Linked DNA regions of Homo sapiens: all the other regions are linked to region 1. The links are contacts of gene promoters, found by promoter capture Hi-C in blood cells and fetal thymus (Javierre and others, 2016). All regions are on one chromosome and are shown on one strand. Each heading gives the region's core, a stretch centred on a gene start or on the middle of the fragment in contact. The rest is flanking DNA. Distances are from core to core; before and after follow the strand shown. Region 1 holds the start of RNASEH2B (ribonuclease H2 subunit B). Region 2 overlaps DLEU1 (deleted in lymphocytic leukemia 1). Region 3 overlaps DLEU1 (deleted in lymphocytic leukemia 1).

What was found. Contacts are between HindIII fragments. The CHiCAGO score rates a contact against its expected background, and 5 or more counts as called.
Region 2: a fragment that was not itself captured here is called in contact with the fragment with the promoter of RNASEH2B in region 1 in 1 of 17 cell types (fetal thymus); the score reaches 5.2 in fetal thymus.
Region 3: a fragment that was not itself captured here is called in contact with the fragment with the promoter of RNASEH2B in region 1 in 1 of 17 cell types (activated CD4 T cells); the score reaches 6.0 in activated CD4 T cells.

Annotation. Positions count from the first base shown.
Region 1 is chr13:50,907,422-50,912,324 of GRCh38, forward strand. RNASEH2B (ribonuclease H2 subunit B) reads left to right here and starts at 2,370. Exons shown (of 11, transcript NM_024570.4): 1 at 2,370-2,719. The coding sequence starts at 2,656. RNASEH2B-AS1 (RNASEH2B antisense RNA 1) reads right to left here and starts at 3,291. Exons shown (of 3, transcript NR_046552.1): 1 at 3,062-3,291. RefSeq lists silencers at 2,185-2,614, 2,625-2,864, 3,075-3,124. The HindIII fragment of the contact is 8,311 bases long and covers 1-4,903 here.
Region 2 is chr13:50,263,362-50,268,264 of GRCh38, forward strand. All of the region lies in intron 2 of DLEU1 (deleted in lymphocytic leukemia 1), which reads left to right. Among named protein-coding and RNA genes, the nearest start is that of DLEU2, 140 kb to the left of the region's middle. The HindIII fragment of the contact is 9,440 bases long and covers 1-4,903 here.
Region 3 is chr13:50,368,221-50,373,123 of GRCh38, forward strand. The region is part of intron 2 of DLEU1 (deleted in lymphocytic leukemia 1); the gene reads left to right. Among named protein-coding and RNA genes, the nearest start is that of DLEU1-AS1, 160 kb to the right of the region's middle. The HindIII fragment of the contact is 1,512 bases long and covers 1,166-2,677 here.

The sequences.
Region 1 (4,903 bases), core at 1,120-3,619:
TTATGTGCTTGACATGGCCTTAAATATGCATGTATCCTTGTAAATTACATCGTGTTGTTCTTTGTGCCTTTTAAATTTACCTACATGGTATTCTGCTAAAAATAATTTCCTGCATCTAAATTTTTTTCTTTAGATACAAAGCATCTGTTTGTATATGTACACCAATCACTGTGTCAAACTGCTGTATACATAGCCCATATACAATACACATGGTAGCATTATTTATAATAACAGTTTGAAATAACCTAAATACTGCACACTAGGGAATGGATAACTAACCCTAGTACACCAGCTGTGTTAAATATCATGCCTTCATTAACAATGATACTTCTCGATATGAAGGGGCACATGCTTATGACAATGTTAAGTGAGAAAAGCAGACAAAACAGTCTAAATTGTGACAACAACCACAAAAATATACATTAATACAGCCAAGGGCTAGAAAGGATCAGAGAAAAATGAAACAGGTATGTATGTCTGAGCAAGGGAATCATGGGTAACATTTCTCATGTACAGTAGCTCCCCCTATTCGAAGTTTCGCTTTCCAAGGTGTCAGTTACCCCCAGTCGAACTTGGTCCAAAAATATTACACGAAAAATTCCAGAAACAATTCGTAAGTTTTAAATTGTACAGTGTTCTGAGTGGTGTGAAGAAATCTTGCACCATCCAGCTTCGTCCTGCAAAGGACCTGAATTCTACCTTTGTCCAGCGGATCCACACTGCAGAAGGTCCCCTCCTTATGAGTCACTTAGTAGCTGCAAGAGTAGTGATGCTGGCATACTGTGAGAATTGTTCTATTTTATTATTATTGTTGTTCATCTCTTACTGGGCCTAATTTTCAAATTAAACTTTATCACAGATATACATGCAAAGGAAAAAACAGTATATTAGGGTTTGGTACTATTTGCGGTTTTAGGCCTTCACTGGGGGTTTTGGATCCCATCCTACAGGAATAATGGGGTGCTCCTGTAGCTGTTAGTAAGACGATGGTGTGCCTGGGGATTTGTGCTATACACCACAGCATCTTCTACAGTCGTTTTGGGGGAGAGGGAAGATCAGAGCAGTACCAATCTGCTGCTCCTTGCCCCAAAACTGGCAAGAGGCGCCTTTCCTCAGCCAGAAAGGCCTCTTCTCCACCAGCTGTGTCCTGCAATCAACTGCAGCTGTATTGGTCTCACCCCATGGGAAACAGGTTTGAAGTTAAAAACCTTTTCAGAGGGCCGAGATAAATTTAGTGCTGCTAAATTTAACTATCTTCAAGATTAAACATGAAAAGCAAAGTGCATGAGTTATGTATATTATTCTTTCAATTGTGCAAAAATAAGACATTAACTTGTTTTTGCATGGAAAAATTCTGCAAGAATAGAGAAGAAATGTTAACAGTTACCCCTGGGATCTGGGATAAAAGAGATACATCATGCTTTTCTTTAAAAAAAAAAAAAATAGGTTTTTGTGGATTTTTTTGTTTTTGTTTTTTTTGACAGAGTCCAGCTCTGTAGCCCAGGCCAGAGTGCAGTGGTGGGATCTCGGTTCACTGCAACCTCCATCTCCTGGGTTCAAGTGATTCTTGTGCCTCAGCCTCCGTAGTAGCTGGGATTACAGATGTGCACCACCACACCCAGCTAATTTTTGTATTTTCAGTAGAGACGGAGTTTCACCTTGTTGGTCAGGCTGGTCTCCAGCTCCTGACCTCAGGCGATCCGCCCGCCTCGGCCTCCCAAAGTGCTGGGATTACAGGCCTGAGCCACTGCGCCTGGCCCGTGCTTTTCTCTAAAGTATGAAAGGAATATGTACTTTCTTCTTAAAAACCATGTACCAAACAACACTTTTCAATTAAAATGTTATTTTTAAAAGTTTAAATCCCCAAATTTCATGGCTCTAACTTTTTAAACATCACTTTTTAAATAAATGTCTAAGTTTTTAACTCAGTATACAGCGTTCTCCAAAACAACAAATTCATATTCTGAGCCCAAAACTGTGCACCTCTTTTAGTGATGAGGACGGAGTCCAAATTGAGGACATCCCTTGTAGCTCACAATGCACACATATTCTCACATCAATAGCAACACAGAATGCAACTGATGACCAATATATATTCACAAATAATTGAGGACCATGGCTAAGAGTTGCATTCGGATTCCGATGTGACTGCTATTGTCCTTAACACGGACTAGCTCCAGGTGAGTCCCCCGGCCCCGGGGGTGTGGCGGGCGTCACCCGTTGTCCGGGCACACACCCCGCAGACCCAATCCTAGCCCGCTGGCTAGACCATGGAGGGCCGCTGGGTGCAGCCACAGAGCGCGGGGCCCCGGCGACCCCGCCCCGCTCCGCGTCACTCGGCGCCCTGCGGCGCGCGATGAGCACCTACCACTAGCGGAGCCGCGAGGGAGAGGCCGCGGCCCCTTCCCGTTGCCTGCGGCCACCGGCCGGCATTCAGAGCCCCTCGCCTGGCGCTAAATTTAAAAACGTAACACGAGCAGCAGGCTGGTCTCGGAAACGAAACGAAATTCGGTCCCTGGGCCTCCTCCCGGGCGCTGCCGGTCCCTCAGCGCGCCGCGCCACCCGGAACAGACCCTTCTCCCGCCATTTTCGGCGGGGCTGGGAGACTGAGGCCCGCGGCGCTGAGCCTGCGGCGCCCCGGAAGAGGCGGGCGGCATGGCCGCTGGCGTGGACTGCGGGGACGGGGTTGGCGCCCGGCAGCACGTGTTCCTGGTTTCAGGTAAACACGCGCGCCCGGGCGGCGGGGTCGGCCCAAGAACTGGCGGAGCGGCCCGCGACCCCGGGCGCGCCGCCCCCCACCCCGGTGGCTCCCACTACCCGGCCCGGCGCGGGATGGGATTCTCTCTGGGACAGCTGGCCCCGCATTTTGGTCACACGTCATAGCAAGCCGCGGTTTTCAAACCCGGAAGCGCCGAAAAGGACCGAGCGTGTTTCCCGGGCCCTGATCCCCGGTGGCTCGGGTGGGAGGGTGGAAGCCGACTCAGCCTGAGGGGAGCCACGCGGGTTCGCGGTCACCGGTGCGCTGCGGGCCCCGGAGGTTTCTGCCCTTGGTGTCCCCTACCTGGCAGCTGGCCCTGCTTCTGTGATCCTACTGGGTTGGAACCAGGGATCCAGTAGGCTCGAAGTGGCCTCAGACGGTGCGCAGTTTTAAGAAAGCAAAGGGACAGGCCTGCAGTGGCGAGGCAGGAGGGAAGCGGGATGGGAGTCGCGGTTAGGCCAAGGGTAGTTCAAAGCGATTCAGCAGGATGATGACCACAGGAGTGCTGGAGCCGGGCCTTTCAGCCCCCGTGTGGATGATGACCGGCCATCCAGGACATGCGAGGGCTTGGGACAGTGGACAGCCAGTGCCACACAAGGAAGGACCGATTAAATGACACAGTTAAAGGAATTTGGCCTAGGGAGTGCAAGCCAGAAAGGTTTGGTCTTTTTATATATGTAACATTGGAAAAAAGGAACATCTCCTGTTCCCTGTATTAAGTTTTGACTTTAGCTCAGCAAATGCAGTGTTTGTGGCAGTAAATATACTCTGATAACAATATTCTTTCCCAGGAATTTAGAGTTTTATGATGGTTATTGAAAATGTTTACATGACAGGCTGTCAATAATATTTTTTGCCTCTAAAAATAAAACATACATAAAGTGTACGGATTTTAAGTATGCAACTCACTGAACTTTTCATACGTATACACCACCCTAGTAACCATCCCCCAGTTCAAGATGTAGACTGTTTCCAATAACGCCTCATGCCTGTTCCTAGATAGCCCCAGGAACCTCTATGCTGACCTCTGTCACCAGAGATTAGTTTTGCCTGTTTGAATAAGAGTGTACCCTTTGTGTCTGGCTTCTTTCACTCTGAAAGATTCATCCTTGTTGTGAAATTCATTCATGTTGTAGCAGTTGTTTGGTTGGTTGGTTAGTTTTTTCATTGCTGCTTCTGTTTAATTGTATGAGTATCCATACTATGTATCTCTACTGTGGATGGACATTTGGGTTGTTTCCAGTTTGCAACTATTACAAGTTACACTTCTCAGAGCATTCCTTTAGGCGGCTTTTGGTAGACATGGGCACTCATATCTCTAGGGTGTATACCCTGGAGTGGAATGGCTGGTTCTAGTACTTGTGTGTAGAGCTGTAGTTGACAATGTTAAATGGTTTTCCAAAGTGGTTATACTGATTTATATTCCCACAAGCAGTGTATGAGAGTTCCCATTGCTGCACATCCTCGGTAAAAACGTTTGGGTGGTAAAACAGCTAATGCAAAATTCAGGGTTTTGACAGAATCTCGCAAAGGGCTACCCGTATACATGCTTTTCATTAGAAAAATCATCCTTTCTTCTCACTTCGTCACATCAAGACAATTAGATTTTCAGAGTAGGAACTCTAATCATTCTTTCAGAATCAAGTGCATTATTGTTATTTCAGATATACACAATAGCTGATGATAATTTGAGCTTCTTATTTTGTTGTTCTGTTTAATCAGTATTGACATCGTCATTTTATACGTGTGTTTGTGTCCTTGTATTAAACACAAAACCCTCAAAAGAATTAAATATTGATTGTATCCCTGAAAATTGTAGGTTTTAATATATCTACTGCTGGGTTGTGGGAAGAGTTTCAGTTGAGTTTCTGTTCAGAGCTGAGATCTACTGTGACCTTTTAAGGCATTGGGGGAGGCTGAGCAGCTGTTGGAACTGCTAGAAAGAGCTGTGTGGTCAGGGGGGCAGGAACTCTTAACAGTTAAAAACTTGAGCTACCAGCTCCTGCAATTCTTCCTTCTGGCCTTTAGCGCCACCTGCAGGCTCTGAGGGTACAACAAGGTTTGACAGCGACTGCAGTGCAACACTAGTTCTCAAACTTGAGGGCATCATTTACCTGGGGAGCTGGGCCTCAGTTCCCAGAGGTG
Region 2 (4,903 bases), core at 1,551-4,050, 640 kb before region 1:
GGGATTACAAGTGCCTGCTACCACGCCTGGCTAATTTTTATATTTTTTGGCAGAGACAGGGCTTCACCATGTTGGCCAGGCTGGTCTTGAACTCCTGACCTCAGGTGACCCACCCCGGCCTCCCAAAGTGCTGGGATTACAGGCATGAGCCACCATGCCCAGCACAGTCTCTCTTTCTATATAACACATACTAGAGCTCTTTCTTGTCTACATTAAGTTGGTCCTCTGTCCTCTCACCCTATTATTCTTTTGTAAAGACAGCTTTGTTGAGATAGAATTTATGTATCATAAAATTCACCCATTTATGATATACAATTCAATGATTTTGATTCCATTATTATTATACAGAAAATAAGCTACACTGTTTATTTTCTTAATTGCACATATCAAAATTTGTAGTTACCTATTTACTTGTTTATTTATTGTTTATGCAACATAATCCCAATTTTGTGAGAAAAAAAATACTGTGTGCACTGGACAGACAAAGATCAAAAGAAATACAGGATTATGGAGAATTTTATTTTCTTTCTTGAAATTTTCTGTGTTTTCCAAAATTTCTCCAATGAGCATCATTTCTTTTTATCAGAAAATATACATTACTTTAAAAATGATCTTTAAGTACAACAATGTGGGTGAATCTTAGCAATATAATATTAAGCTAAAAGACGTTCCAAAAGAACACACACAAAACGCTATACTTTTATATGTCATACGTTGTTTTATATGTCAAAACCAACCAAAATGAAAATACTATTTTATTTATTTATTTATTTATTTCGAGATGGAGTTTCGCTCTTGTTGCCCAGGCTGGAGTGCAATAGTACCATTTTGGCTCACTGCAACCTCTGCCTCCTGGGTTCAAGCGATTCTCCTGCCTCAGCCTCCGGAGTAACTGGGATTACAGGCATGCACCACCACACCTGGCTAATTTTTGTATTTTTTTTTTTTTGTAGAGACGGGGTTTCACCATGTTGGCCAGGCTGGTTGTGAACTCCTGACCTCAGGTGATCCGCCCACCTTGGCCTCCCAAAGTGCTGGGATTACAGGCGTGAGCCACCGCGCCTGGCTGAAAATATTATTATTTTTTGAATAAATATAAATGCAATAAAACTTACATCACAAAAAGCAAGGGAGTACTGAACATAGGATTTAGAATGACTGTTATTTCACATGGGTAGAGCCAAGTGAATGGAATCGAGGAACCATATAATTAGGCAGAGGTTATTGTTAAGAATCTAGTTTTTGTTTTATGAGTTCTTGTAATATTAAAATAGAAGATAGATAAATAGATACAGTCCATATTTTATAAACATATTGTCTCCTTATTCGAGTCGACTGTCTTGTGGGTTATAGCAGTTTTTGCAAGTAGATTCTGTCACTAAAATGTGCTGGTGTCACCAGGGCCAGCACCACCCAATGATATCTCTGTGTCCTCCTTCCCCTGGGAAGAGGAATGTGAGATGGGGTACGGCCCAGGCATGTGGCATCCCAGCCTGCAACTGTGCTGCTGATTGGGTGTCCATCTGATCGGCTAAAGCCCTGCCTTGGTTGTTCAGTGTTTTCAGCATTTTTCCCAGCATGGGCAAAGCCACCAAGCTCATTCATTACCAGGCCAATCAGCCGTATCCACATGTAGCAGCACACCCACCATCAACTTGTACTAAGGGCAATGATTGCAAAGAGGGGGAGAAAAGGAGATGATTGTAGGTGCATGGACATAGCACCTTTTCTGATGGTCAGTTCGATTTCAGTGTGAAGAATTTATTTATTTATTTATTTATTTATTTATTTATTTTTGAGACGGAGTCTCACTCTGTCGCCCAGGCTGGAGTGCAGTGGCGTGATCTCGGCTCACTGCAAGCTCCACCTCCCGGGTTCACGCCATTCTCCTGCCTCAGCCTCCAGAGTAGCTGGGACTACAGGCGCCCGCCACCATGCCCAGCTAATTTTTTGTGTTTTTAGTAGAGATGGGGTTTCACCACATTAGCCAGGATGGTCTCGATTTCCTGACCTCGAGATCTGCCTGCCTTGGCCTCCCAAAGTGCTGGGATTTTAAGTCAGAAACTGCCTCGACGTTTTGTGGTGCTCCTGACGTCTGCACAGCCCTACTTGCACAGTCTTTCCTGATGTCATCACGTCTTGCCTCTGCTACTCATTTGAGACACATACCTTAGATGAAAAGGATTTCTGAAGAGAAGAAGTAGAAAGATGCCCTTTAATAAATCCTTCCAATTATAGAACCAGGTGTCTGGAATAGTCCTCAGAGAACTCCCCACTCCTCTCTTCACTACAGAGGCATAAGACGCAGGCCCTGAGGGATTGAATGTCTCGGCACCACCCAGCCGATCCTCCCACACCGGGAGGTCACCTGGCCTCTGACCCCCTGGCTCCCTTCCCAGCCCCCTTTCACTACACCATACTTGTGGCATGTTCTACCTGTAGAGAAATGTGGTTTATAACCTCCCCAGTTATCATTTATTTCATGGCTTTTACACTGCCTAATTTAAAAAAGAATTTAAAATATTTTACCAAGTTATGATACCCTAAAATATAGAATAAAATCTCAAAAGGGCAGAAACCACTTGGAGGTAAGAGCCTGGGCTGACTTGGTTTCTGTGGTGGAGCCTTGTGGGTGTCCCAGTCTCCAGGGAAGTGAAAGTTTGGGAGTATCTTCATCCATGTGTCAAAAAATAGTGAAAGCCTGCAGAAGCACAAATTCAGCAAAAGCTCACTTCACCTAACAGAAACACTACTGAAAAATCACTTAATGTCAAAACAAATCCTGTGTTGTATTGGATATATATCTAAGGTCTGCAGACTTGGAGAAGATAAGTCATGTTTGATTTTCTGAAACCTTTGCAGCTTGAGGGGCCAGGGTGCCGGGAGCACCTGACAGGGAAGTCCTTGTCATACATGCTAAGAATAAAGCCCCCTTCCTTTTAGAGGCTAGCCCTAGTGGAACCGGTTCCACTCCCTCCTTTCCTGTTTTATTGATTGATTGATTGTTTGATTGATTGATTTAGAGACACACCTCATTCTGTCACCCAGGATGGTGTGCAGTGGTGCGATCTCAGCTCACTGCAATTTCTGCCTCCTGGGTTCAAGTGATTCTCGTACCTCAGCCTCTTGAGTAGCTGGGATTAGGTGTGTGCCACCGCCCAGGTAATTTTTGTATTTCTAGTAGAGACGAGGTTTCACCATGTTGACCAGGCTGGTCTTGACTCTTGGCTTCAACTGATCCGCCTACCTCGGCCTCCCAAAGTGCTGGGATTACAGGCGTGAGCCACCGCGCCCGACCCCCTCCCCTGCCCTGTTGACACTTAACTGCAAACCTGGGAGAGAAAGGCAGAAAGGAAGGAAGTGTATGTCTGGAGTTAACTAGATAAAACTACAAGAGGTACTGGTAAGTGGTGGAAACAGGTGTTTGGTTATAAAGAGTGGTATCTGCTGTTGTGCTGGGTTTCACGTGATTTATGTTTTCTCTGGTGAGCCCCGCTAGTATGAAGACAGTAGGGCTTTGCTAGAACTGGTGTGTTCTCGGGGTAGTAATGGTCTCTTACTGGAGTCCCAGGAATCTCTGGGTCTCTTCCTTTTTTAATAACAAGAGCTATTCCAATAACCTTTTTGACCCTGTGATGTTCATAGATAGTATTAGCTTTTTGGTTTAATTCTTCAAGATAAAGTTTACACCCTAACAGGATCCTTTGGGGGTGTTATTCCAAAGGGGAGTGTGATGTGTGAATTTCAGGCTGTTTCAGGATAACGAAGAAAGCAGTTTGTGGAGAAGGGACTTTGAAGCCACAGCACACACTTCCCAGCTTCTTCCACTTTTGCAGAAAGCATTCTTGGGGGTGGGATGTGGATGGTGTGTGTTCTTACATAAGGTGGTCTTGTTACTGAGAGTGCAGGAAGTTCCTTTGTTTCTTGGTTTGTGGTCTTTAGTAACGATAACTTTAGGTGAATGGAACCTTTCTGTACATTTTCAGAAATCTCCAACGTTTGGATCATGCCAGGATGTTAACTTTTTACAGGCCGAAGCTGAACGGCCTGTTATGAGGGAGCCCCAAAATATGTAACATCATTACCTCTGTTAACACCAGTTTGTCAGCCTCTAGACCCACTGTTCACAGTGGCATCAATCCTGGAGAAGATCCACACCTTAGAATGGTTTTGTTTGGTTGCCCTGTTGGGACCTTCACTGAGTCTTACCCAGGGGTTCTTATAGTGTGTCTGAGGTGTGTTCCCCAACTGGCCCTGGGTGCAGAAATTATATTTGCAGCCAGATAACTTATAATTTGCTACATATGGCCAGTCTTTTTTAGCAGTTTTCTTTCTTTTGCATTTTGCCACACCCACTCCCAATTTACTGTTAGCAGCCCTCCTGGTACCTTCTCACCACAAGGGACTTATATTAGATATCTGTAGGCTCCGAGACAGAGAGAGAGAGATTGAGAGTGAGAGAGCCCAATCACATTGCTTGCCTCCTGTTTTATTTTAATATCATTATTTTTTACATTACTGTTCCTTGACCCTTGTACATTAAACATTAAATAGAAGTCAAGGTTATAGTCATGGGGCCAGAGAGAGGAATCTACCTTCCTTGATGACTCTAGGCTGGAACAGGATTGAAGGGAGCACAGGAGTGGCTAGGGCTACAGTCTGTGCTTCTACAGAGAAGCATGTGGAACAGAAGGTTGAGGTGAGAGGCCGAGTGGCACAGATGAAAGAGCATGTTATTTTGGAGTTGGACAGACCTTAACTGGAATGCTAACTTGGCCACTGGTCAGCTATGTGGTCTTGGGCAAATTACCTGGCACTTCCAAACTTCAGTGACCTTTGCCTTATCTGTAAACTGGACTTGCAAGATTGTTATGGTAATCAAGTGGAATAATAGGTAGTAAGT
Region 3 (4,903 bases), core at 672-3,171, 540 kb before region 1:
GCAATGTATGGCCAAATCTTTCTCCTCCCACCATACAGAACACATTCATTCAAAGAGTATAAATTGGCCCAAGCTTAATAGACATTCTCTTTTTTACTAGTGGGTCAACACAAGTATAGGCCAGGTTAGTTCTATAGATAAAACAGAATTTGAAATGTGTAATGTTAAAGCCAAAGGTCCAATGGCTATTTATTCCACATTCTATATAACTACCCTAACTCAAGCAGCCGCTCTAAAACCCCAGTGACTAGGACCCTGAAAAAGTGTTCTTTAAAGTGTCAGAACAGAGATTCAGACTCTCAGAATTTGCTGTTTCAGTTTGAGAAGATGAAGAGTTTGAAGATGAGAAGACTCAAATTTGAGTCCAGCACCCAGCTGCCAGTCTAGCAGCCCATTGTAGCCCCCAGAGAATGAAAATGGAATGCTTGGTCCAATCCCCATGGTGGGTGTCCTCCAGGAAGCTCTGGGGTTCCCAACTGGCCTCCAGCCATACCAGGGCCATATAGATTCCTTAAAATAAATATCTATTTGTGTGTTGCCTTTTGGTGGCTCTGATCATCTATAGCATCAAGTCTAAGCATGATGCTTGAATAAGCCTCCATGATTTATGCCCCCTCTGGGCTCTGGGCTCCTGTTGCATCACACTGTCCCTTTAGCTTTATATCTAGTTACACAAAATTACTTGTTGTTTCCACAATAAAGCCTTATGTGTCTTGTCTTTGTGACCTTAACTATCACTTAAATTGACAATGCCCTTTCCTTCTTTTCCTACTGAAACAACCCTAGTTAATCTTCAAAATATTCATAAGGGACACTTTCCTATGAAAGCCTTCTTTGACAACATCCTCCAGATAGACTTAATACCTTTTTTCTTTGTATAATTTTTTACCTGCTCCTTTACTGTGCATCTCAAACTATATTTAATAATTTGTTTATAATCATCTTTTAATTAAACTGTGAGATCCTTGAGGGCAGGAATTGTATTTTATTTATATAGGATGCCCAGTAGTAAGCATAGTGCCTATACCTGTACAGGTGATTAGTAACTGTTTAAATGAATTCTTCATTTAACAAATATTTCTTGAGACTTTTTATGTTGCAGGCATTGTTCTGGGCCTTGTAGATGTGGCAGTAGTCAAGAAAAACAAAGACCTTTCCTACCTGAAGCTTGTGTTCCGGTAGAGAAAATGGATAAACAGATAAAAATAATAGACATTGCATATACTTTCAAGTAATGATATGTGCTACGAAGAAGAAAAAAGGCAGTGTAGGAGGTTGTGGGTCGATGGGATTTCTCTTAGATTCACAAATCAAGAGGTGATCAAATGAAACTTAACCAAAAAAGACAATGACTTCTCTCTAACCAAACTTGATTACTGATAGTCTTTTTCCAAGTCAGCTTAATGTGCTGTTCAAGAGAATCAGTGTGGAAGGAAGGAAATGTGCAAGAGAGTCCTGTATCAGACACAGTGGGCAGGGAGCTTTACATCTCTCATCTTATTGGGCTTTGACAACACCCTTCAAGATAGGTGCTGTTGCAGATGAATGACAACCTGAACTTCAGGGAGGCCAAATAATGTGTCCATGTGGAGTGTCTGAGTGTGTAAGCCAAGGTTCAAACCCCGGCCATCCTGGGCCACTTGTCAACACCAGTTCTACAGTTGAATTCTATGAATACTTATCAGGTGCTGACTTCATGTCAAGCCCTGTTCTTCATGCTTAGCATACACCAGCAAATAGAATAGACAGAAATCCCTGCCATTTCAGAAAGTAACAAGTGTTGACAAGGATGTGGAGAAATTGAAACGCTTGTGCACTGTTGGTGGGAATGTAAAATGGCACAGGTACTATGGGAAACAGTATGGTAGATCCTCAGAAAATTAAAAATATAATTACCATATGATCCAATGATTCCATTTCTGGAAATATACCCAAAGGAATGGAAAGCAGGATCTTGAAGAGATATTTGTAGACTCATGTTCATAGCAGCATTAACCAAAAGGTAGAAGCAATGCAAGTACCCGTCAACAGGTGAATAGATAAATAAGATGTAGCCTATATGCATTTACCACACATGGAATATTATTAAGTCTTCAGAAGGAAGGAAATTATGACATATGCTATAACATGGCTGAACCTTGATGACATTATGTTAAGTGAAATAACCCAGTTACAAAAAGACAAATATATGGTTCTGCTTATATGAGGTACCTAGACCAGTCAAATTCATAGAGAAAGTAGAAGAGTGGTTGCCAGGGGCTGGCAAAAAGGGGAAGTGGGGAGTTAGTGTTTACCGGGTACAGAGCTTCAGTTTGAGAAGATGAAGAGTTCTGGAGACGTATAGTGGTGATGGTTGCACAACAGTGTGAATGTACTCAATGCCACTGAATTGTACACTTAAAAATGGTTAAAATAGTAAATTTCATATTATGTGTATTTCACCACAATTTAAAAAATCTCTGCCCTTGTGGAGCTCATGTTTTAGTTCAGGGACATGAACAGTGAACAGATTAAATATGTAAATCATAAGCTATTAGAAGGAGATGAGTGATATAGAAACAGAACAGATTGAAGAAGATTGGGAGGGCTGCGAGCAAGGAGAGTGTGTTTTCAGTTTTAAACGGGGTGGTTAGTTTCATGGTCTTCTTCAGCTAGAGTTAAAATAAGTCGTCAATAAAGCTTGTCAGCCATGAAACTGGGGTATCTTCCTTGGCATCCATGCTTTGCCCAGAACACTCTGACTTGTTGGAATCTTGAGTGGAAATTTAAAGTCTCTCAGAAATAACTTTCAAGTTTCAGTGTAGGAAGTCCAGAGCACACAGAGGGGAGGAGGGACTGTCACTGGGCAGCATCCAGAGGGACTTCATTTTCAGTGTGTGAGGGAGACAGCCAGGCGGGGCGTGCACATTCAGGGAATAATAAACAGTAAGAGGGAGAGGGCAGAAGACAGGTGGAGTGTGTTGGAGGTGGGTACACTAAGGCAAGGCAGGAGGCTCTAAAATTTGTAGGCTGGATGATGGGAAGTAAGTGCAGTGTTTAAATTTTTATTGTAAATTAGTTATTTACTCCATCCATTGATTCCTCTAGCCAGTGTTGGAGGGACCAGCTTGGCACGTGCTTCTGGGCTCCTTCCTGGGGATTGGGTGCAAGAATGGCTGCCCTCAGAGAATGAATCACAATCTGGTAGGAAAGTAAAAACATATGCACATTGGGAATATTTAAATAGCAAGGCTGTGTAGTTTATACCAAGATGAGTGATCCAGACAATAGATGCTGTAGACAAGGAAGACAGTCAAAATATCTGTCAAAATTTCTAACAGCCAGTACTGCACAGGCATCAGACTGGATTGCGATGGATGCCAATCCCATCAGAACACACTGTGGGAGTGGACAATCTGTACCCCATGAATATTAGCCCTGGTATGGCAGCATTGAAGAGCAAAGGTCTCTAGGGACTGGGGCCACTGCGCAACAGTTCAGGGAGGAGATAGAACTCAGACTGAGCCTGGAGAGGTGGGGAGGGAGAGAGAAGCGGGAATAATTAAATTAGTTTCATGATGTAAGTAGGATTCTTAGAAGATTATTCTGACAGATATGTGTGGCATGGAGTAGAGTGGGAGGAATGAAGGAAGAAAATTGGTGAGGAGGCTGTTCTAGGAATTGAGGTGTGAGATGAGAAGAATGGAGGACTCCCTATTGGAGAGAAAGGCTTGACCCGTGAGCCAGGGAGAGCTGAGCGGCGAAGAGTAACTTGGAATTATTCCGCCAAGAGCCAAAGTATTTATTTCTTACCACGAATTGTTAAAATGTGACTATGAAGAGTAGTAAAAGCATAATAAGGTGTGAACTTAAACCCTTGACACTCTTTCCTCTCCCTTCCCTGAAATTCCTCTCTTAAGATCCAACAAGGGACTTGAAAAATAATATTGTGAAAATGGCTTGCAAGACACAGCTGGATTCCTCACAGGACTAGCTTTGTTAGCAGAAATTGCTCTAGGATCTGCAGTATGCAGAGCACAGGGGTGGGCAGATCAACCTCAGCCTCTGGATTGGGTTTGGGAGAAAGTCTCTTTAAAGCCCCCAGCACTATTCCTGGGAAGCCCCACTTTAGGAGTTATGTCCCGGGAAGGTTCCTGACCTGCTGTCCTAGCAAAGCCCAAGCTTCCCTTCTTGTCAAAGTTGGACTTGGGCACCCTGCTGTTCAGCTCTCCACCTAGGCAAGCTTTGTGTAGCGTTCAGGAGGCTCTAAGAGTTGTAGGGCTTCCCTTCTGCAGTTTTAATTTGAGTGTTAATAAAAAAACTCTTTAGGCAAGTGATAATATTGGTACAGACCTCTTTGAAAAGAAGAGAGGAAGATACACGACCGAATGCATTTCAACTTCCACAAGAGCTATTTGAAGAGGATAAAGATGAAGGGTAAAGGGATAAAGTGGGTGGTGGAGTGGAAGGCCAGTTGGAGTAGTTTATTCTATAAAGAGTGAGATAATTGGGTGGCCATTTGCAAACACACACACACAGACACACAAACACACACACAATTACACCCTTCACTGTGCACCAAATGCATCAAGGATTTATATATTTTAATATTAACTTTCATAATACAATCTTTTATACTATGAAAATAAGTAAATATACCACTTTCTTTTCTTTCTAAACATTCACTCACTGAAGGATATCTAGGTTGTTTTCATTTTTTGGCTATCACCAGTGAAGCTGCTGTGAACTTTCATGTACAGATTTTTGTGGGAGCATACGTTTATCTCTCTGGGATAAGTGACCAGGTATAGTACAATCACTTCTGGGTCAAATGGTAATTGCGTGCTTAGTTTTGTAATAAATTGCCAAACTGTTTTTCAGAGTGGCTATATCATTTTACATATTACTTATATATGTATATATA